Linked DNA regions of Homo sapiens: region 2 is linked to region 1. Evidence: promoter capture Hi-C in 16 types of primary human blood cells and fetal thymus (Javierre and others, 2016). All regions are on one chromosome and are shown on one strand. The core of a region is centred on a gene start or on the middle of the fragment in contact, and the rest is flanking DNA. Distances in the headings are between cores, read along the strand shown.

Region 1 (3,694 bases), core at 345-2,844:
GGCGCCATCTCAGCTCACTGCAACCTCTGCCTCAAGCAATTCAAGTGATCCTCCTGCCTCAGCCTCCCCAGTATTTTGTATTTTTAGTAGAGATGGGGTTTCGGCATGTTGGCCAGGCTGGTCTTGAACTCCTGACGTCAGGTGATCTGCCTGCCTTGGCCTCCCAAAGTGCTGAGATTACAGGCATTAGCCACCGCGGCCTGGCCAATAGGCACTATGTAACTATTAGTTTAATGAATGAAGAAATGAATGCTTGTGGGCATCATTCATTCTGCAACAAACTTCTAAAAATTAATTTTACTTTGAAACAATTTCATACTTTCAGAGGAGTTACAAGAATAATACAAAGAAGTTCACCCAGATATCTCATTCAGGGTTAGCCAATTGTCCACAAAATATACTTTAGAGAGCAAGAGGATTAATTCCAGGGTCTCTTGAGCAACAAATATTTATTGAGCGCCTGCTACTATTGGATTACATAACAGTCTCTTAACTGGTCTCTTAGCTATAGGCATTGCACCCCCACCCCTAGTCCCATACAGCAGCTCCTTTTACTAATTTATTTTTGAGGAGGATCTCGCTCTGTCGCCCAAGCTGGAGTGCAGTGCCGCGATCTCAGCTCACTGCAACCTCCGCCTCCCAACTCAAGCGGTTCTCCTGCCTCAGCCTCCAGAGTAGCTGGGACCACAAGCACGCACTACCGCGCCAGGCTAATTTTGGTACTTTTTGTAGCTACAGATAGAATAGAGATCTTTGTCTATTTTGTTCACGAAGTACTGCAAGCGCCTTGAGCTGTACCTGGCACATCTTTGTTGCTCAGCAAAGAGTGGTTGGATAAACGAACGCTGAAGGTATGCTAGTACCAGGTACTGTTCTCGGTGCTGGAGTTACAGCAAAAAACTCCCTGCCCTCGTGGGATTCTCACTGGAAGCATGCTTAAGCTTAAGCCATTTTTCAATCTTGACCCCACCATTTTGTTCCCTGTGAGATTTGGGGTGAACTGCAGTTTCCTAGCCTCACTTTCCTATCAATCGTTACGAAGATTAAAAGGAAAAATATCATTTGTATCGCATTTAGCATCAGAAATGCTTTAATAATATTCGTTTCCCTTCCTTTCAGGCTGGAAGACTGGGGCCTGACATCTCTGCCACAGGCTTAGGCGAGGTTTTCACAGGGACTTGGAAAGGTGCAAACGGTTACTACGGCCAGGCTTACCCAATTGTTAAGTGAAGATATTCTGGAGAGTGCTTAAAAGGGTTGGAAAAACAAACCAGTGAGTGGCTAGGACCACCTACTCCGCTGTTTTGCCTCGGAAAAGCCTCGCCGGCTGCCGGGAGGTGAAAGTCTGGAGGAACGGGAGGAAAAGAGAGGGGTGGCTGTCCACAACAGAAAACTACACATCCCAGCACCCCCGCGGCAGACGACTACGGGTCCCAGCAGGTTTCGCGGGGTGGACCGAAGCGGGCTCTCTTGGGGCCTGCAGTCGGGGTTCAGCCAGAGGGGGCGCCGGGCGTACCGACGTAGCGGGGAGAAACGGGTCGCGCTTTAACGGCGCTGCGCAGGCGCCACTCACGGGCCGGACGTGACGCAGGGAAAGTTCCGGCTTCGGCCTCCGCCGCTGCCGCCGCCGCTGCTACAGCCGCCGCCGCCGCTGTTGCCGCGGCTTGTTATTCTTAAAATGGCGCCGCTAGACCTGGACAAGTATGTGGAAATAGCGCGGCTGTGCAAGTACCTGCCAGAGAACGACCTGAAGGTGAGCCCTATTTGCGGGCTCGCCCCTTCCGGCTGTGGGGCGCCCGCCGGCCGGCCCTTCCTTTCTCCAGGACCCCCGCCGGGTATCCAGTCCAGTCGCGGTGGAGGGCCTCCCCCATTGCCAGTCGACCCGGTCCTACCCGGCGTCACGCCGAGGGTCTCGCGAGCCGAGTCGTCGAATGCTGTCCCGGTTGCCTCAGTGGGGATCCCGAGGGATGTCGCGGCCTCTGTCCCAGGGTCGCCCCTTCTGGCCTTCGGGCTGCCCCAGGACCCGCAGCTGTAACAGCTTTATTTAGAAGGCTCGGCTCCCCACCCCATCCCTGGGTCTCCCGCAGTCGGAGCCGAGCCCCCGCGGCAGTGCCCTCGGGATGGGGTCGCCTCCACCGGAGGTGACAGGAGCGCGGAGTGGCCGGCGTCTGACAGGAGATGCCACCGGCTACCGGAACGCGGCCTCAGTGTGTTTAGGTCTCTGAGGAAGGGGAAGGCGGTGGGCCCGAGTGGTTTGGTACTGGCGGGAGCGAACGTCAGGTCGTCCCTCTTCATTGCCACTCCTCCAAATTGCTTTTTAGGATCGTCGGTTTTGCTAATTCAGAGGTGAATCCCGTTTCTGAGTATGTTGTTGAGCTTACTGAAGTGGATAAAGTAGTTGGTTCTCAATAAATACAAATACTTTCTCCTTAACCCCTTCTTAACTCAGTATTTCATTTTCTTCGTTTTCTAAAGGAGGTGAGTTCCTTGTTACTCCTGAGTCCAAGTAAGAGTAAATGTATGTATGGGTAAAGGAATGACTTTGGTATACTGCTTTTCTTTTTTAAAACTTTTTAATTATTATTATTATTATTATTATTATTGTTTTTAACTGAGATAGAGTCTCACTCTGTCACCCAGGCTGGAGTGCAGCGGTGCGATCTTGGCTCACTGCAACCTCCACTTCCCGGGTTCAAGCGATTCTCCTGCCTCAGCCTCCCGACTAGGTGGAATTACAGGCGCCCGTCACGACGCCCGGCTGTTTTGTATTTTTAGTAGAGACGGGGTTTCGCCATGTTGGCCAGGCTGGTCTTGAACTCCTGACCTCAAGTGATCCGCCCGCTTCGGCCTACCAAAGTGCTGGTATTACAGGCGTGAGCCACCGCGCCGGCCTAGGTATACTGCTTCTTTGAAAAGTGTTTCTATGCATTTGCTGAAATCAGAGCTTAGGTTTCTAGCAGTGCTTATCAGCTCGTGCTAGTATTTAACCGACTCAGTGTATTCTTTTTTTTTGAGACGGAGTCTCGCTCTGTCGCCCAGGCCGGAGTGCGGTGGCACCATCTCGGCTCACTGCAACCTCCGCCTCCCGGGTTCACGCCATTCTCCTGCCTCAGTCTCCCGAGTAGCTGGGACTACAGGTGCCCGCCACCACGCCTGGCTAATTTTTTGTATTTTTAGTAGAGACGGGGTTTCACCGTGTTAGCCAGGATGGTCTCGATCTCCTGAACTCGTGATCCGCCCGCCTCGGCCTCCCAAAGTGCTGGGATTACAGGCGTAAGCCACCGTGCCCAGCCCCGACTCAGTGTATTCTTAAGGAAATATATTACTGTGGGTTTTGTTTTATTTCTTCTTTGTACAGTAAGTTGATACTTAACATCAGTCAACAAGTATGCATAATATTTGAGGCCACACGTGCTGTTGTGAATGTGACTGAATTGTACTTACCTGTTAATTTTATGTGGCATATGATAGGGGAGTCATTCTTGTGCATTTTCCCGTTTTTAATAGAATAATTTCAAATAAGGACAGCCTTCGTTAGTAGTAATGTAGCATTTGTGCTCATCTGAGTCCTTCAGACATTCCTTTTGTGGCTTCTTTCTGCTATGTGGTTTTTTTAAGGGAATAAGAATACAACTAGCATTGGGACCCAATTCATGGAAAACTAACCAGACCTCTTAGTAGCATTATTAATCCC
Region 2 (3,694 bases), core at 502-3,001, 75 kb before region 1:
GTTGCAGTGACTTGAGATGGCGCCACTGCACTCCAGCCTGGACCACAGAGCAAGACTCTGTCTCAAAAAACAAACAAAAAGAAAAAAACAAAACGAACAGCAGAAAATAGGGAAAGATACAAATAATAATTTAGCACGTATATTCTGCCTCCCAGAATTAGCTGTTGTCACAGTAGTGTCTAGTCTCAAAAAAAAAGTATAGATATCCTCAAAAGAAATTATAGATAACGGGCTGCGCGCGGTGGCTCACGCCTGTAATCCCAGCACTTTGGGAGGCCGAGGCAGGTGGATCACAAGGTCAGGAGATCAAGACCATCCTGGATAACATGGTGAAACCCCGTCTCTACTGAAAATACAAAAAATTAGCTGGGCATGGTGGCGGGCGCCTGTAGTCCCAGCTACTTGGGAGGCTGAGGCAGGAGAATGGCGTGAACTCGGGAGGCAGAGCTTGCAGTGAGCCAAGATCACGCCACTGCACTCCAGCCTGGGCGACAGAGCGAGACTCCGTCTAAAAAAAAAAAAATAAAATAAAATAAAATAAAATAAAAATTAGCCGGGCATAGTGGTGCATGCCTATAATCCCAGCTGCTCGGGAAGCTGAGGCAGGAGAAATGCTGGAACCCGGGAGACGGAGATTGCAGTGAGCCGAGATCGCGCATTTGCACTCCAGCCTGGGCAACAAGAGCAAAACTCCACCTCAAAAAAAAAAAAAAAATTATAGATATCATCCCCTTTGCCACTACCTCCCATTCATAATCCCTTATAGACGTGAAATTATAGAGTACGCCTATCTTCAACTTTACTAAGGGCTGCAAATACTGTCTTCAAAAGCAGCTATACCAGTTTACACTCAACCAACAGTTTTTTTTTCCTCCTCCTAACAGTAACCGGTAGCAGTTTCTTTTTTTTTTTTTTTTTATAAATTTTTTCTTTTTTAATAGAGACAGGGGTCTCACTTTGAGGCCCAGGCTGGTCTTGAACTCCCGGGTTCAAGGACTCAAGTGGCCCTCAAACTCCAAAAGTGCTAAAATTATAGGCATGAGCTACCACGCCTGGCCAGTAGTTTCAAAATTACCATTTTTGCCACATCTTCACCAACATTTGATATCGTCAGACATGAAATTTTTTTTTTGGCCGGGCGCGGTGGCTCACACTTGTAATCCCAGCACTATGGGAGGCCGAGGTGGGCAGATCACGAGGTCAGGAGTTCAAGACCAGCCTGGCCAATATGGTGAAACCCCGTCTCTACAAAAAAATACAAAAATTAGCCAGCCATCGTGGCACCCGCCTGTAGTCCCAGCCCAGGAGGGAGACTGAGGCAGGAGAATCGCTGGAACCCGGGAGGCAGAGGTTTCAGTGAGCCAAGATTACACCACTGCACTCCAGCCTGGGAGACAAGTAAGACTCCCTCTCAGAAAGAAGAACAGAAAAAGAAACAATGCCAGGTGTGGTGGTGCCGACCTATAGTCCTAGCTACTTGGTAAGGCTGAGGCAGGAGGATCACTCAAGTCCAGGAGTTCAAGTCCAGCCTGGGCAATGCAGCAAGACCTTGTTTCAAAAAAAAAGAAGGAAGAAGAAAGAAGGAAGAAGAATGAAGAGAAATAAAACAACCTAGGATCACACAGTAAAAGGTAAAAGAACCTCAGCAAAACAAGAACTTCACTTACAGACTTTCCCTTTTATTACCTCATACAAAATGATGAATAATCAAACCTATATGGCAGCATGTACTAAGAATGATTAGTCCCCATATGAAACCAAATGCTCACAAAAGCACAACATAGTGCTGGGAAATAATTTTTTGTCTTTTAAAAAATGTAAGATGGCCAGGCGCGGTGGCTCACGCCAATAATCCTAGCACTCTGGGGGGCCAAGGCGGGCAGATCACTTAAGGTCAGGAGGTTCGAGGCCAGCCTGACCAACATGGTGAAACCCCGTTTCTACTAAAAATACAAAAATTAGCCAGGCATGGTGGCAGCACCTGTAGTCCCAGCTACCTGGGAGGCTGAGGCAGGAGAATGGCATGAACCCGGTAGGCAGAGCTTGCAGTGAGCTGAGATCGCGCCACTGCACTCCAGCCTGGGCGACAGCCTGAGACTCCATCTCAGAAAAAAAAAAAAAAAATCCACCTCCATGATTTAAAGAAAACCAGCAAACAGTAAAATTTCTTTTCTCAGGCTTACATTAGAGCTTACAGAGCTGCAATCCCTTGGAAGTGGGGAGGTGCCTTAATACAAAAATTTAAAGGCCAACATATTCACTTTTCTTTCTTCTTCCGATTATTTTGTTCATTCCCCATTACCCTGAATGAAATATCTATGGTCTATTCTTTCAAAATGACTACTCTGGGCAGGACGCGGTGGCTCACATCAGTAATCCCAGCACTTTGGGAGTCCGAGGCAGGCAGATCACCTGAGGTCAGGACTTTGAGACCAGCCTGACCAACATGGTGAAACCTTGCCTCTACTAAAAATATAAAAATTATCCAGGCGTGGTGGCTGGTGTCTGTAGTCCCAGCTACTCAGGAAGCTGAGGCACAAGAATCGCTTGAACCCAGGAAGCTGAGGTCGCAGTGAGCGGAGATCATGCCACTGCACTCCAGCCTAGGCAACAGAGCCAGACTCCGTCTCAAAACAAAACAAAACAAAAGACTACCCTGATCCCATCCAAATTTTTTATCTCCCTGATTATGAAATTCTCTTTCGTCTACACTGTCATCCTGTCTGCCTTCAATGATTCAAATGTTCTTCTAAAGAACCAGATTGCCATTTATGAACTCCTTTTTAAGGAGGGAGTCATGGTGGCCAAGAAGGATGTCCACATGCCTAAGCACCCAGAGCTGGCAGACAAGAACGTGCCCAACCTTCATGTCATGAAGGCCATGCAGTCTCTCAAGTCTCAAGGCTACATGAAGGAACAGTTTGCCTGGAGACATTTCTACTGGTACCTTACCAATGAGGGTATCCAGTATCTCCGGGATTACCTTCATCTGCCCCCCGGAGACTGTACCTGCTACCCTACGCCATAGCTGTCCAGAGACCGGCAGGCCTCAGCCTAAAGGTCTGGAGGGTGAGTGACCTGCGAGACTCACAAGAGGGGAAGCTGACAGACATACCTACAGATGGAGTGCTGACAGACATACCTACAGATGGAGTGCTGTGCCACTTAGTGCCGACAAGAAAGCTGAGGCTGGGGCTGGGTCAGCAGCCAAATTCCAGTTGAGACGGATTTGGTCGTGGACGTGGTCAGCCACCTCAGTAAAATTGGAGAGGATTCTTTTGCATTGAATAAACTTACAACCAAAAAAAAAAAAACAACAGTTCTTCTAAGTAGACTTATAAATCCAAAAAACCTTATTTCTATTTCAGGAGTTTTTTTGTTTTGTTTTGTTTTTTGAGACGGAGTCTCGCTCTGTTGCCAGGCTGGAGTGCAGTGGCGTGATCTTGGCTCACTGCAATATCCACCTCCCGGGCTCAAGTGATTCTCTTGCCTCAGCCTCCCAAGTAGCTGGGATTACAGGCATGGGCCACCACACCCAACTAATTTTTGTATTTTTAGTAGAGATGGGGTTTCACCATGTTGGCCAGGATGGTCTCGATCTCTTGACCTCAATGATCCGCCCGCCTCGGCCTCCCAAATTATTTCAGGAGTTCTTAATCTTTTTGTGCACGGACCTCATTGGCAGTTTGGTGAA

The links. The method cuts DNA at HindIII sites, captures the fragments that hold promoters and counts their contacts. A CHiCAGO score of 5 or more calls a contact.
Region 2: a fragment that was not itself captured here is called in contact with the fragment with the promoter of PPP6C in region 1 in 5 of 17 cell types (naive CD4 T cells, fetal thymus, naive CD8 T cells and 2 more); the score reaches 6.2 in naive CD4 T cells.

The regions. Positions count from the first base shown.
Region 1 is chr9:125,187,703-125,191,396 of GRCh38, reverse strand. It overlaps PPP6C (protein phosphatase 6 catalytic subunit), which reads left to right and starts at 1,594. Exons shown (of 7, transcript NM_002721.5): 1 at 1,594-1,753. The coding sequence starts at 1,679. RefSeq lists enhancers at 1,317-1,396, 699-1,485, 1,486-2,272. The HindIII fragment of the contact is 2,825 bases long and covers 944-3,694 here.
Region 2 is chr9:125,263,149-125,266,842 of GRCh38, reverse strand. All of the region lies in intron 1 of GAPVD1 (GTPase activating protein and VPS9 domains 1), which reads right to left. It also overlaps the pseudogene RPS10P17. Among named protein-coding and RNA genes, the nearest start is that of GAPVD1, 3.2 kb to the right of the region's middle. The HindIII fragment of the contact is 5,449 bases long and covers 1-3,694 here.